3 separate regions of the Homo sapiens genome follow, and all the other regions are linked to region 1. Evidence: promoter capture Hi-C in human tissues and cell types (Jung and others, 2019). All regions are on one chromosome and are shown on one strand. Each heading gives the region's core, a stretch centred on a gene start or on the middle of the fragment in contact. The rest is flanking DNA. Distances are from core to core; before and after follow the strand shown.

Evidence for each region. The method cuts DNA at HindIII sites, captures the fragments that hold promoters and counts their contacts. A contact is called where the count stands out against the background at its distance.
Region 2: a contact is called between a fragment that was not itself captured here and the fragment with the promoter of CTTN in region 1, in 1 of the 25 tissues and cell types used here (mesenchymal stem cells).
Region 3: a fragment that was not itself captured here is called in contact with the fragment with the promoter of CTTN in region 1 in 7 of the 25 tissues and cell types used here (IMR-90 fibroblasts, lymphoblastoid cells, mesendoderm cells and 4 more).

Annotation. Positions count from the first base shown.
Region 1 is chr11:70,396,576-70,401,501 of GRCh38, forward strand. CTTN (cortactin) reads left to right here and starts at 1,954. Exons shown (of 18, transcript NM_005231.4): 1 at 1,954-2,039. It overlaps CTTN-DT (CTTN divergent transcript), which reads right to left and starts at 1,887. Exons shown (of 3, transcript NR_186321.1): 1 at 1,523-1,887. RefSeq lists silencers at 284-472, 1,570-1,619, 1,720-2,229, 2,811-2,880 and enhancers at 1,250-1,319, 4,168-4,462. The HindIII fragment of the contact is 28,316 bases long and covers 1-4,926 here.
Region 2 is chr11:70,345,939-70,350,864 of GRCh38, forward strand. It overlaps PPFIA1 (PPFI scaffold protein A1), which reads left to right. Exons shown (of 28, transcript NM_003626.5): 16 at 2,251-2,482. Among named protein-coding and RNA genes, the nearest start is that of CTTN-DT, 50 kb to the right of the region's middle. The HindIII fragment of the contact is 7,431 bases long and covers 1-4,926 here.
Region 3 is chr11:70,362,799-70,367,724 of GRCh38, forward strand. All of the region lies in intron 21 of PPFIA1 (PPFI scaffold protein A1), which reads left to right. CTTN-DT (CTTN divergent transcript) reads right to left here. Exons shown (of 3, transcript NR_186321.1): 3 at 1-3,920. Among named protein-coding and RNA genes, the nearest start is that of CTTN-DT, 33 kb to the right of the region's middle. The HindIII fragment of the contact is 5,452 bases long and covers 160-4,926 here.

The DNA of each region.
Region 1 (4,926 bases), core at 704-3,203:
TCGAGGCTGCAGTGAGCCTTGATTGCACCACTGCACTCCAGCCCCTGTCTCTAAAGATTAAACAAACAAACAAAAAAAAACAGTCAGCAATGTAAAAAAAAAAATTTTTTTTTTCAGAGATGGGGTCTATATTGCCCAGGCTGGTCTTGAACTCCTGGGCTCAAGCAATCCTCTGGCCTTGCCGCTCAAAGTGCTGGTATTACAAGCCTGGCCAACAATCCTTGTGCACAGAAAATGCAAATTAGCTGTGTCCAGTTAAATGCAATTGACCTTTGCACTAGAGATAGAGCAGTTTTTGCAAATTCATTTCAGCATTCGTCTTCCGTTTTTTTTTTTTTTGACACAGGGTTTCTGTTGCCCGTGCCGGAGCGGTCCTTTTGCCTCAGCCTCCAGAATAGCTGGGACCACAGGTAAACGTCACCATGCCTGGCTAATTTTTTTCTTAAAAAAAATTTTTTTTTTTTGGTAGAGACAGGGTCTTGCCATGCTGCCCAGGCTGGTCTCAAATTCCTGACCTCCAGCAATCCTCCTGCCTTGGCCTCCCAAAGTGTTGGGATTACAGGCGCGAGGCACTGCATCTGGCCAAATTCTTTAAACAATTTGTAACAACTTATGATGTATTCATTATCGAGTTAAATAAAATATTTGACGTGTTCATTTTATATGTGTATGAAGGTCATGATTTTACCTTTAAAAAAATGGTCAACACCTGACATTTCCTTCCGCCACCCGCACTTCCAATTCATCCTCACATCTGACAGTTTAGCTTTCTAAATGCCTCTTGCATCTATCCACTTCTCCCCATCTTACCTGCCACCAGCGGTCTGCCCGAATTGGCTACATTAGGCTCTACCTGGCCCTTCTCCCATCCATCTTCCACACAGCAGCCAGAGTGATCTCATTACAATTCAAACTTCATTATGTCTTATTTATTTATTTAGCGATGGCGGGCGGGGGCGAGGGTCTCACTATGCTGACCAGGCTGGTCTCGAACTCCTGGCCTTAGGCGATCCTCCCATGTCAGCCTCCCAAAGTGTTATGATTACAGGCGTGGGCCACTGCGCCTGGCCCAAACTTCATGATGTCTCTTATCAGCTTAACTTCCTCCGAGGACTTCCCGTGTCTCCCAGAATAAAGACCGAGGTCTTCGCTGTGCTCTATCGGCCTCTGCATGACCTGGCCCCTCTCACACCACAGCTCCGCTGCACCACTAGCCCTCTACCATGCTGAGCTGAGCCTCCTCCAGTTCCCCTGCTGCAAGACCGTTCCTGCCTTGGGACCTCTGTTGGCCCTGCTGTTGGAACCTGCTGTTGGCCTGCCTGGAAAATTCTTCCCTCCTTACCTTGTTTACTCTTATAGGGCCTTCACATCTTGGCTAACATGTGAATCGCCCAAAGAAACCTCTGGTCTCCCAGGGGTTCAGGTCCTACCGTCTCCCCAATACGATGTTATGAAACTCTCACTTCTTGGCATTTATCTCATTTCCCAGGTGAGTACCCATGTGGTTTAACGCTTGACTCACCTTCTAGGCTGCTATGTCCCTGTGGCCGGGGCTCGCGTCCCTGGCACGCATGTGGCCCTTTCTTGGAGGGGAGGTGCATGGTGAGCGGACGAGGACGGCTGAGGGCGCGCGCGGAGGGAGGATGGAGAGATGAAGAGGCTCCCCGCTCCCGGACTCAGGGCACGTGCGTCTCCTCGGCTGGCTTCCTTCCCCCGGCCCCGGGCAGCGCCGCGGATCCTGAGACCCCGCCGCGGGCTGTGTGCTGCTCAGCGCCCATCCTCTGCGCGCGCAACGCTACTTCCGGGCGAGCTCTGCAGACTCGCCACAGGCCGGGCTAGCGCTTAGCCAGCTGCGGGCGGACCCCCGGGACTCTTGCGGGCCAAGACGCGGGAGGAGGCGGGGCAGGGGGCGGGGTCGCGCGGGGACCCGGATGCGGCCCCGCCCCCGCCCTCGGAACCGGAAGTAGAGCCTGGTGCCTGGGAGCGGCTGGCGCGGCGGAATCCAGGGCCGACCCGGGCCGGACCGACCCCAGGCGGCGGTGAGCGAGCGCGGCGTCCGCCCGGGGTGCAGGCCGGGCTCTGCTTCTTCCCTCCTGTGGCGTCGCCTGGCCGCGAAAGGGGAAGGAAGCGGCGGCCGCAGCGGTCTCACCGCTCTTCCGCTTGCGGTTTCGGGGGCCGGGGCAGAGTGGCGAGGCTTTCCCGGCCTGGGGCGGGGCAGGGCGAGGGCCGGGGGTCCGCGAGGGCCACGAGGACGGGTCTGGGCCCAAGGAGGCCGGGCAGGGGGCAAGGGGGCACGGAGGGCTTGGGGCTGGGGTCCGCGGAGGAAGGTTAGAAAGGGGCCAAATTGGGGTATCAGCTCTGAGGGGAGGGTCCCTGGGCGCCGGGGGGCTCCAGGGCAGGAGAGGGGCCAGGCTGGGAGGGGTCTTGGGTCCGAGGGAATAGGAGAGGGGGATGGGCTCCGAGGGGGAGGGTATTAGGGCCCGAGGGAGAGGGGCTGGGCCTGTGGGGTTCGGGGGTCTGAGCGGAGGGGGCCGGGGTTCGAGGGGCCAAGGAAGGTGGGTGTGGGGGGTCTCAAGGAAAGGGCGAGGGGTCTGAGAGGGAGGTGTCTGGGTGCAGAGGGAAAGGGATGAGGTCCGAGGGGAGGAGATTGGGGTCTGACGGGAAGGGGTCCAGGCGCAGAGCTACTGGGATGGGGTCCGAGGGAAGGGAATTGGGGTTCGAGGGGAAGGGGTCGGGGCTCGGAGGAAAGGTATAGGGTCCGAGGGGAGGGGATTGGGGCTCCAGGGGAAGGGATCCAGGCGCAGGGAAAAGGGATGGGGTCCGCGGGGTCAAGGCGGTTGGGGTGCGCGACTTTGAGGGGCTCGCTGTGGGACGTGGCGGAGCAGCTGGGGATCCGCCCGGCCTGCACCTGAGCGGAGGTTTTGCAATCAGGTCAGTGGAGGCAGCGAGGCGCGGCTGCAGCTAGTCGTGAGGCTCTAAATTTGGAACCGTCCCTCCTTCGGGGTGTGTTTAAAATCACCAGAACGGTGCTTTGGGGCTTTCTGTTACGTTTCCATCACCTGGATAGTCTAAGGGATGCCTGATCCCTGAAGCTGGAAGGCCTTGGGTGAGAAGGGACAGGGCTTCCTCCCGCTGGAATCTGTGGACGTTTGGGGCCCCTTGGGGAGGAATTCATTTTCTGCTGAAGGAAGCTCCGGAGGCATCCGGTGAGCGCTCCCTGGAATCCCATGCGCTCCCTTTGGGCTCAGTGTTGACTTGGCTGCGCAGGCTCTGTCGGGGGGACTTCACCCACTAGGTCCTTCAGGCATGATCCAGCCCTCAAGCCCGGCCGGGCCCAAGGCCGTGGCGCAGGAGGGGCTGGCCGCCTGCCCCTGTCTCCATTCACGTGTTTGACCGTGTGGGTGAGTCACTGGCTCCAGAGCACTGAGTCAGTCCTGTTTCTCCTCTGGTTAGAGAAGTATTCGCCAGATACTCAAGGAACAAGGAAGAGTCTTTTAAGTGGGACTCAATAAAAAGTTGGGGAGGCAGGGTTGTTTTGATATTAGGTCCCCTAGAACTAGAAGCTAACCTTCTGCTATATCTTACTGAAAAGAAATTTCTTTTGACCTGGGGCAGGGGTGCGGTGGCTCACACCTGTAATCCCTGCACTTTGGGAGGTCAAGGTGAGAGGATCGTTTGAGGCCAGGAGTTCCAGACTAGCCTGGGCAACACAGGGAGACCTTGTGTCTACAAAAAAAGAAATTCGCTGGGCATGTTGGCTTGCACCTGTTGTCCTAGCTACTTGGGGCGCTGAGGCAGAGGATCTCAAGCCCAGGAGTTGGAGGCTGCATTGAGCTCGATCGCACCACTGTACTCCAGCCTGGGTGACAGAGCGAGACCCTGTCACCCAGGCTGGAGTGCAGAGGCTCTTCACAGGTGCCATCTAGCACACTGCAACCTTGAACTGCTGGCCTTAAGCGATCCTCCCACCTCAGCCTCCCAAGTAGCTGGGACTGCAGGCCCAGCTAAAGCTGACTTTTAATTGTAGCATTTTGATGGACTTGTTTTTAAAACACTTTTAAAATGACAGCACACATAATCGGCAATTCAGATCTTCAGTCTGTGCCACGCAGTAGGTGCTCAGAAAAGGTGTCCTGAGAGTGTGAATTGCTGTGAGCGCTGGTTGCTGCCTTGTGTTGCAGTATTCCCATGGCCTGGGCCAGCCAAGAGCAGGGGACTGTGCTCCAGGAGCAGGCTTGGCTTTCACTGTGGCCCAGGCCCACCCCATCTGCTCACGCACTGCTTTGAGTAAACGGAGTAAATGTTGGGGGCGGGGTTTCCCTTGAGTAAGTGTGGTGTAGGGAGTGTGCCTGTGATGGTGATTTTGGCTACGCAAGTGTCTGTTTCCTTTCTCCTCCTGCTCTGCCATAGATGCTGAGGCTAATGGAAAGCTGATGGTGGACGGATGGTTCTGTCCTGTCATTTAAAACATTCTTCTGCCAGGCTCGGTGGCTCACACCTGTAATCTCAGCACTTTGGGAGGCTAAGGGCAGGTGGATTGCTTGAGCCCAGGAGTTTCGAGATCAGCCTAGGCAACATGGGGAAACCCCATCTCTGTTAAAAATAGAAAAATTGGCCGGGTATGGTGGCTCACACCTGTAATCCCAGCACTTTGGGAGGCTGAGGTGGGCAGATCACGAGGTCAGGAGATTGACACCATCCTGGCTAACACAGTGAAACACCGTCTCTACTAAAAAAAAAAATACAAAAAATTAGCCGGGCGTGGTGGTATATGCCTGTAGTCCCAGCCACTCAGGAGGCTGAGGCACCAGAATCGCTTGAACCTGCGAAGTGGAGGTTGCAGTGAGCCGAGATCACACTATTGCACTCCAGCCTGGGCAAAAGACTGAGACTCCATCTCAAAAGAAAAAAGAAAAAGAAAAATTA
Region 2 (4,926 bases), core at 1,464-3,963, 50 kb before region 1:
GTGCACGGCTCCACTCCAGTGTTCCTTTCCCTGTGTGAAGTTAACATGGACAGTGAGTGCTCAGATTGCAGGTTTGAATCTTTCTTGTCTCGTCAGTATTTTAAAGGGTTTTTCTTTAGCAACTTTAGCAGTTATAATGCAGAACTTACAAAACGGGCCAACTGTAGAATGGAATCCAAGAATTGCTTTTATATTTATGAAGAGACCGGTAAACCCTGCCCACGCTGGCTTGGCCTAGGGACACAGCAGTGTGACCAGGGGGTGCCTGGGATCTACCCTCGGGCCCTGGCCTGACGTGCTGCTTGGCTAGCCTGAATCCAAGGGAGGAGCAGGTGTGTGTGTGGAGTCCTGCAGCAGGTCTGGGTGGGGTGCTGCCACGACTTGCTTGTGAAGTTTACGTGGGTGGAGGTGCCAGTCCTGGTCAGAGAGAACAGGAGGTAAAGAAGAGAAGGTTGAGAGAAACATCAACAAGAGCTGTGTTACTCCAGCTTTTTTTTTTTATTAAAAAGAAAAAAATAGGGCTGTACATTCTGAAGTAAGAAGTTGGTGTGCTGCCTGTGTTTTTGACTTTATAACTCCCATTTCATGTGCCACCTTGAAAACTGGCGAAGAGACCTCTGCAGCATCTGTTGCCAGGCATGGGGGCCCTTTGAAGGAGGAGGTGCAAAATAATTAGTGTGATGAAGCGTTCAGAAAGATCGTCTTTCCTCATCATTATGGGAGCTGGGAAAGGATTATATACCTTTTGTTTTTATTTCTTATGATGTATAGCTAGATAAAAGTGTTTCCTCTTTATGCAGAAAGTTGACCTGATGTAAGTGTTCTGTCCACTGACTTGTGGATTTTCTTCTATTAATAATGATCAAAAAGCACTTTTCTTAGAAATGTAAGTAGAACTTTAATTGGAAGGGTTATTGCAAGGTTTCTATATTTTAATACTAGAATAATTATTATTGGCACAGTCAAATATTAAAACTGCTGTCTAGTGATCCATGACACTCTAGGAGAGAGGAGCGTTAATCTTGAATTCCAAATTAATGTAGCATGGTTGGCATGAATCCAGAAATTTACATGAGGATGGTAGAGAATCCCATCAGATAACGCTCTGGTTCAAATTTAAACTAAAAAAAAGAACCAACTCAATATTTTCGTTTAGTCTAAACAGTTAAGTGTTGGGAAACTCCTAATTGTTTTGTGCATCTGTTCTTTATATTAGAGTTCCTGATTTCCAGTTGAAGAAATCTGTAGATTTCTTCAGCTTTGCTCTAAGAATAGGGGAGATAAGGGTCATAAAATTTTAAAATATCACTTAGTAAGGAAATTATTAATTGCAACCATAGGAAAAATTGCCATCCAGCCTTCTCCAGAATTTTTGTGTAAATAAGTAAAATCAAATGTTAATGATATCCAGAACCAACAAGACTCAATGGAAGGTTTACTTTTTGTTGTTGTAAGATGTAGTATATTAAAAAAGATTGAGGCCAGTGTGGTGGCTCATGCCAGTAATCCCACCACTTTGGGAGGAGGCTGAGGTTGGAGGATGTCTTGAAGTCAGGAGTTTGAGACCAGCCTTGGCAACATAGGAAGACCTTGTCTCTACAAAAAAAATTTTAAAAGATGAGCCAGGCGTGGTAGTGCATACCTGTTGCCCCAGCTACTTGGGAGGCTGAGGCAGGAGGATCCCTTGAGTCCAGGAGTTCGAGGCTGCAGTGAGCTGTGATCATGCTACTGCACTCCAGCCGGGATGACAGTGTGAGACCCTGTCTGAAAAAATAAAAAATTTGGCCAGGAGCTGTGGCTCGCGCCTGTAATCCCACTACTTTGGGAGGCCGAGGCAGGCGGATCACGAGGTTGGAAGTTCGAGACCAGCCTGGCCAACATGGTGAAACCCCGTGTCTACTAAAAATACGAAAAATTAGCCGGGCATGGTGGCACGCGCCTGTAATCCCAGCTACTCAGGAGGCTGAGGCAGGAGAATTATTTGAACCCAGGAGGCAGAGGTTGCAGTGAGCCGAGATCGCGCCACTGCACTCTAGCCTGGGCAACAGAGCGAGACTCCATCTCAAAAGAAAAATAAATAAATAAAAATTTAAAAAGAGTAGAACATTTTTGCTGAAGTGTTCATTGTTTGAGCAGCTTATTACTGGAGTTTACTCATAGTAATACAGAGTATAAGCATGGTTTTTCTCATGCAAACACATTAATCTGTTTGCCGAAACAGGAGGACTGACTGCTTTTGTTTTATTTTAGGTTGATTCAGGAAGAAAAAGAAAATACAGAGCAGCGGGCAGAGGAGATTGAAAGTCGAGTTGGCAGTGGAAGTCTAGACAATCTTGGTCGTTTTAGATCAATGAGCTCCATTCCCCCCTACCCTGCTTCCTCGCTTGCTAGCTCCTCCCCTCCGGGCAGTGGGCGCTCCACCCCACGAAGGATCCCTCACAGCCCAGCTCGGGAAGTGGACAGACTGGGCGTCATGACCCTTGTACGTATCCGCCCTTTCCCTGCTGTGGCTGCCCTCAGCATACCTGTATGAAATCTTGGACACTACAAATCTACCCACAAGAAAATCAAGTACATTCGTTATTCTAAGAGGTTCAAGATTATAAAAACTAGTTACTATTTAATCATTCAGTTATGACAAACTAATTTTAATATCTGGGGCCGGGCGTGGTGGCTCATGCCTGTGATTCCTCACACTTTGGGAGACTGAGGTGGGCAGATCACTTGAGCCCAGGAGGTCAAAACCAGCTGGGCAACATGGCAAAACCCCATCTTTACAAAAAGTAGCTGGGCCTGGTGGTGTGTGCCTGTAGTCCCAGCTACTCTGGAGGTTGAGGTGGGAGGATCACCTGAGCCCAGGAGGTCGAGGCTACAGTGAGCCATGATTGCATCACTGCCCTCCAGCCTGGGCAGCAGAGTGAGACCCTGTCTCAAAACAAATCCCAAAAAATATAAAAAAAAATTTTAATATTTGGATGACCAGGCTAGCATTACACCATTTGTTTGTGTGACATTAGGCATGACATCTGTGCAAAGTACAGCAGCCAGAAGGGGAAATATTTTCTGTTTTATAGGAAAAACCACTTAGCAAAAGTAAATAAAGGCAGACATCAGAGCATATGGGAAAATGCACAAAGTGGGTCAGTGCATTTCTTTCCTTTCGGAGTGCCCAACCAGCTTCCTGGGCATCTACTACCAAAAAAAAAAAAAAAAAAAAAAGGAAAAACATGAAATGGGTTCTGCATTTGAAGCCGTGAACAAGCCAGCTGCTTCGTGGCTCCCTAAGGAAGCAGATGGGCTTCTTCCCTTCACAGCTTAGGGTCACCTCTCACCTGGAAATGCAATGACCTTCTGGTGTTTGGTGTTTGCAAAGTGTGCAGATCTGAGGAATGTTTAAAACTTTCCTTTGGGCCTGGCATGGTATTTCACGCCTGTAATCCCAGCACTTTGGAGAGGCCAAGGTGGGAGGATTGCTTGAGCTAGGAGTTAAGAGACCAACCTGGGCAACATAGTGAGAACCCCATCTTTATCTAAAAAAAAACCAAACTATCTTGTATATTTAGAATTTGTCAGTGTGTTGTCAATGAAATATTTCATATTTACACCATTTGCTTTTTAACTGTGCTTCTATCATATTTTTTCCCGTTACCATCTATTTTCGTTTTTAGTTGTGTTGTTAGCCAGCATGCAATTAAATCGACGGTGAATCATTTTAGTGGCATATGAGGTGGTAACTAGTCTATTTTGCAGTGTTTTGAAATACTGTTTTTATAATTTACATCATCTACTAATTAGGTAACATTTTAAACTCTTTGACTGTTTTATTTGTGGGCTTGTGCTTATTTCTGTCCAGAGAATTCGTAAAAACAGTTGTGTATGTATATATATTTTTTCTGGTTTTGTAATTCTGTATGCTGGCTGACAGTCTCTATGCTTCCGTCATTGGTTTTGATTTCCTGTCATCCTTTTGTTTTATTATTTTAGCCATCTCCAGATTCATTTTTAATCCAGACCTCAGGTCCCCATCAGTCAGTAGTTTACTCATCCACCTCCCCTCCCAGTTCCACCCCATGCTATAGCGATTCTTCACAGCATGCTCAGGTAACCACGCAACTGTGTGTGTTCGATCATGTTTGTGAGTTTGTGCTGTGATGACTTTATTAATGGGTTGTTTTTTTCTCAGTTAAAAGTATCTTTTTCTCAATGGTAATTTAAATTAGTGTATTACTATATAGTAAGTATGGATACAGGCAAGACATAGGTGTTTAAGAGTTTTTTTACTCAAATTATGTAGGATTTGTGTAATTCATAAGTGTTTCCTACATAACTAATCTAAGCGTAGAATTAATGGAAGCTGTTTACACAAACAGTATGCTTTCTGGTTCTGATGATTGTGTTCAAGACTGTAAATCTCATCAGCCTGTTGAGTCTCATCAACTATCTCTAATAGGTTATTTTTAAATTAAAATATCTTATGTGAATCATAGGATGGATGTAAAGATTCTACCTAATATTATGCTAGCTTTTGTTCTTATATATTTTCACAGGATACCTTGCTTTAAGCAATAAATTTATTTTTGAAAAGTGGTAAATCAAATTCTAGGTAAGGATTTTACATTAATGTCCAACAGGTGATTAACTAAAAGTAGGTTTGTTCAGTTTTATAATTGGTATTGCAGTAACTTCCTCATCCGTTGGAATATTTTTAATTATAACATGGATTTTATTAAAGAAAACTAAGTTATAGAGAGGTTTGGCTTAGAATAGATGATTGTTAGGGCCTTTTATTATATAGAATGCCATATTTTAATAAAACACATGAAATAGAATTTTATCTAAGTAATAATTTATAGTGTTTCTCTAATAAACCTTTAATAACTTATATTTAAATTTTTTGGTGAAAAAATGGTTCTGTATCCAGTTACA
Region 3 (4,926 bases), core at 1,636-4,135, 33 kb before region 1:
AAAATTGGTAGAGATGGGGGTCTCGCTGTGTTGCCCAGGCTGGTCTTGCACTCCTGGGCTCCAAGCAGTCCTCCCACCTCAGCCTTCCAATGTGCTGGGATTACAGGCGTGAGCCACCACACCCAGCTGAGTTTATCAAAATTGAATCAGTCTAAGGGCCTCTTGAAGGAAAAAGTTAATATTTTAAGGACACATTTTATAATTAAATGTTTTGAATTTCATTTTTCAGTTTTCATGATTCAAACTGAGTAATTAACATTTGTACTATATATAAAGATATTTGCTAAGCCAATTATAGTGTATTTTTAAATGTTACTGGAATATAATATACATATAGAGAAATGCACGTATGAGTGAACAGTTAAATGAATCTGTAAAGTCAGCATCCCCTGTGTGGTCCACACCTACATTGAAAAATGGGATCTGACCAGGGCTCTGGAGGCCTCCTGCTCCTTCTGAGGCACTGCCCCTTCCCTAGGGATGAGTGCCTGGCTCCTGGTGCCATAGACTGCTCTGTTAGTTTCGTTCTTCATGTGTATAAACAAGATCATGTAGTATTCACTCTCTTGTGTCTGGCTTCTTTCACTTAATGTTATGTCTGTGAATTCATCCGTATCATTCCATGTGTAAGTAGCATCTTGAGTAAAATTTTTCTGTCTAGTTCAGAGGACTGGCTCTTCCAGGCTTCTTAGAAGCACCCATTTATTTATTTATTTAAGTTTTTTATTTTTTGGAGGCAAGGTCTTACTCTGTCACCCAGGCTGGAGTGCAGTGGCTCAATCGTAGCTCACTGCAGCCTCAACCTCTTGGGCTCAAGCGATCCTCCCACCTCAGCCTCCCAAGTAGTTGGGACTACAGGTGTGCACCACCACACCCAGCTAATTTCTAAAAACTTCTTAGAGACAGGGTCTTGCTGTGTTGACCAGGCTGGTCTGGAACTCCTGGCCTCCAGTAGTCCTCCTGCCTCAGAGTCCCTGAGTGCTGAAATTACAGGTGTGAGCCACCATGCCCAGCCAGAAGCATCCATTGAAATATAGGTGACATACTAGTAAGAGATACTTGTTATCCCACCGTCAAAACTGATCCCTAAGGAATTTTTGTATTTTTTGTAGAGATGGGTCTCACTTTGTTGCCTAGGCTGGTCTGGAACTCCTGGGCTCAAGCGATCCTCCTGCCTCAGACTCCCAAGTAGCTGTGACTACAGGCATGCACAGCCATGCTTGGAAAAGGTCCCTAAAGAATTCTAATCCTCCCTTCCCCATCATTCCAGTTTGCGGACATTTTTTAAAATAAAAACTAAAGGGGAAAATAAAGATGAGATCACTGGTTGCCTTGTAACCAGTGTTTTACTGTATTTGATTTATTTGGCCTGTAGGTGTTTTCCATTTGGGGAGCTAAAGACCCTGGGAGCTCAGGATTTCAAGCAGTTCACAAATCTGCAAATGTTCATCCAACATGAGCTGTACTTATACAGTTTCTCTCCATGTGGGAAGTCCCTCAAAGTCCTTAAGAAGGGTTATCCTACTTGAAAAAGAAGAACTATGTTAATAAAAACAAGAATGGTTATTGGGAGATAAGGGCAGGCCAACTCCAGATTTATAAAGTTGAGACTTTTTACACTGGCTGGATTCCCAGTCTCTGCTTTTAGTCTCCTCAGGAGAAAACAAATTCTTGTTGCAATGAAGAGCCTCACACATTTCTCCAAGGAGCACGTCAGCGCTGGATTTAGGGCTCCCAGTTACCTTACAAAAAAAGTTTTGAGGGGTTTTACTTGTTTTATTTATTTTTTTCTTCTTAATGAACAAATTATGGTGATGAACAATAAGCTTTGTCCTCCCCTGTTGCTCCAAGAGCTCCTTTCCCACAGCCTGCCTCAGGAGCAGTGTCTGAGCTCTTCCCTGGTTGTTTCACATGACAGTGGCCTTGCTGAAAATGAAGGTGCTGAGTGGTTTCTCCCATGTTTATCCACTGTCTTCAGTAATGATGGAGAACACCTCACATAAGGCAGACTCTTCACACCATGTCAAAATGCAAGGAAAAAATCTCCCTCAAGTAGACACACAGGCCACTGTCTGTCTCGTGTCTGGTTCTGATGGCTGCACAGAGCCATCGACACTGCTTAGCAGTGACCCCCTCTGCCCTGTGGCCTGCCTTCAGCCTTTCAGGCCGTCACGGAACATCTGCGAGAAAGCCCTCCAATAGCCAAAGCAAGAGTTTCATGCTGGGTTCTTTGTTGTTAATCTGCTTTAAATATATTGAATCAATAGTTACTTGAGAATTACTCAAAGTTTCCAGAAGTACACAACGTGTTTTCTTCTCTTGATATTTCACATACCTCGGGTAAGCATGGCATCTAAAGCTCTCGTCATCGTGTGCTCTTCTCCTGATGGTGTTGACGACCCAGTGTTAACAGGGAATGGTTATTCTGTACGGGCATCTGAACTGAAAAGTGAGAAGAGCGAACTTTGCCTCCTCGGCCCCTTCTCTGTGCCTGTGGCTTATGCGTGTGCCCCTCTCCTCTTTGTCACTGCTTCCCTTGCCCTGGATGTGGTTGGTGCACTGGGGTCACCTTAGACCACAGGAAATGTCTGGTTAACACACGAAGAGATGGAAACGCTCGCAGCCACGCCGCAAACGGTTAGTCACGCCCCACAGCCTGCACTCCTCCCAGCGCGTTTTCCACTTAAGACCGTCTGGGTTCTTTGCCTTTTTGTTGAAAACAAAATGTTGTTTTCCATTCAGTCGTTCCAGATAAGTATTTCCTTTAGTTATTAGTTGAAATGTGTAAGTAGAATTTGTATTTTATTTTAGATTTTTTCCAGGAACTTCAAGTTGGTAGACTCTGTCTTTTAGAATAGCTTTAATCTAGCTCTCCTTTTGGAGAGATCTCAGTTGAGCCTCCATGTGACTGACTGTGTGGCCCTTTCTCCTTCCATGAATATGCTTGGCACGGAGAGAGTCTGCTCCTTGCATGAGAAGTTGAAATTGTTGGTTTTGCATGAGTTTTGCATGATGCTTTGATAGTCTGAACTTTTTCACTCAGTGAAGCTGCATCTTCCCTGCAGAGTTGCGTTGCCTGCATTACCGAGCTCACCAATACTAATAGTTATGTTCTTTTGCATTCCTAACCACGTAACCCCAGGAAGATGAGGAGGGAAGCTGGGCTCAGGTTGGAGTCTTTCTCTAATATATTCTTCACTACATGTACAGCAGCAAAAAGCAATTGGAGTATGAAAACTTGTGTAATCTACTTTTTTTGATGTTTATAGCATCTTAGTTTATTCGGAGTACAGGATTGTTAATGATTTGAAAGCACTGGTCAAGCAAAACATAGCATCAAAGAGTACGTCTCATGGACAATTTTGAACATTTCTCATATGGTGCCATGGCAGTTATTTTTAATTAATATAGATTGCTTTGTTTAACATATGATCTTGTATACAAAGTCTTGTGGCTTAGGCAGCTTCTGAGATTATGTATGTAATTTCCTGGTAGGGTAATGTTATTACAAGATATACTGATAGGGAAATTGTGCTCTAATAAATTTCCAAACACAAAAATTGGCATAATGACTTTTCCTCTGTGCCTTTGTGTTGATTTTTTACTAAATACTATCCTAATACTATGTCCACTTAAAGATTTTCTTACTAATGGAATCCTAAGGAATTAAGCCTCTTCTTGAGTACTGTATATTTGAATTTTCAGCTTCTCAATTCTTTAACTCACCAAAAACTCTATCCCAACTGTTTTGCATTCTGTATGTTCAGACAGCTTGCCGAAATGTCGTGCGACGCCACTGGCCTTCTGTGGTCAGGGTGTATGTCTCAGTGGCACATTGCAGCCATGAGGCGTGGACAGGCAGTTCTAGAGGCTTTCCCGAATGGACTGTATTTGAGGGCTTCAGAATAATCATTATATATCTGAAAAGAATCAAAAGGATTTTAAATCATAATTTTCCTGATTACGAGGTGATGGTTGAAGCAGCTGTTTCCTTCTCTTGGTACTCCTAAAATCTAGCTCATTAGACTGTCCCCCCACCTTTTTTTATTTTTATTTTTTATTTGTATTTTTTAACAAAATAGAGTAGCTATAATGTGATTCTGTGGGCTTTTTTCTCTCTTGATTTAAGCATTCTGTGCCTCTCCTCCAGATAAATAACCTCATTGTTTAACTTGTTAGATATCCCTTTATAGGACCAATAATGACCATAAATGAATTATACAGGGTACATTTCATAATTACTTAAATTTCAGTATATTTTCCACCAAGGAGCAGAATTTGGTTAATACTTCAGTATGAAATTGCCTGAGTCAGGGACAGGAAGTGTAAATTAAATAAGCTTAACCTTGCTCTTTGCGGTGGAAATATAAACAAGACTGAGCTGTGGTGATGACTCCAGAACTAGCCGACATGCAGTCTAGTGGAAGCTCGTATCACTTTTCCCTCCTTCCTGTCTTCCAGATGGGACTGCCACCTGCTGCCAAGGGCAGTACACAGTGGCCAGCTCTTAAACCAGGGAGAACTTTGAGCTGCGCCGAGAGACTAGGGGAGGAAGACATCAAGGCGTGGTCAAAACCATTTATACCTCATTTAACAAAATTAGTAAGAGTGCTGGCTGCGTGGAGCATCTATGAGCAGGACACCCATGGTCCCCCCGTCATGGAGCTCCCATTTTATGGAGTTCATAAGACTGGGTTGTACTTGTGGCTGTTTCAGTGCTGGGAGTAAACACTGTGCAGTGGGTGTCTCTTCTAGTTCAGATGTTCTCTGGACTGACATCACCTGGTATGTTTTTTTTCCAGAAGGCTGCTAAGGCAGCCCAGGAGAAGAGGTGGGTCTCCCTGGGATGGAGCCTGATCCTTCTGGGAGTTCATGTTATAGGCCACTTCAGGAGTCTGAGCAGAGCATATAATGAGGAAACAGAAA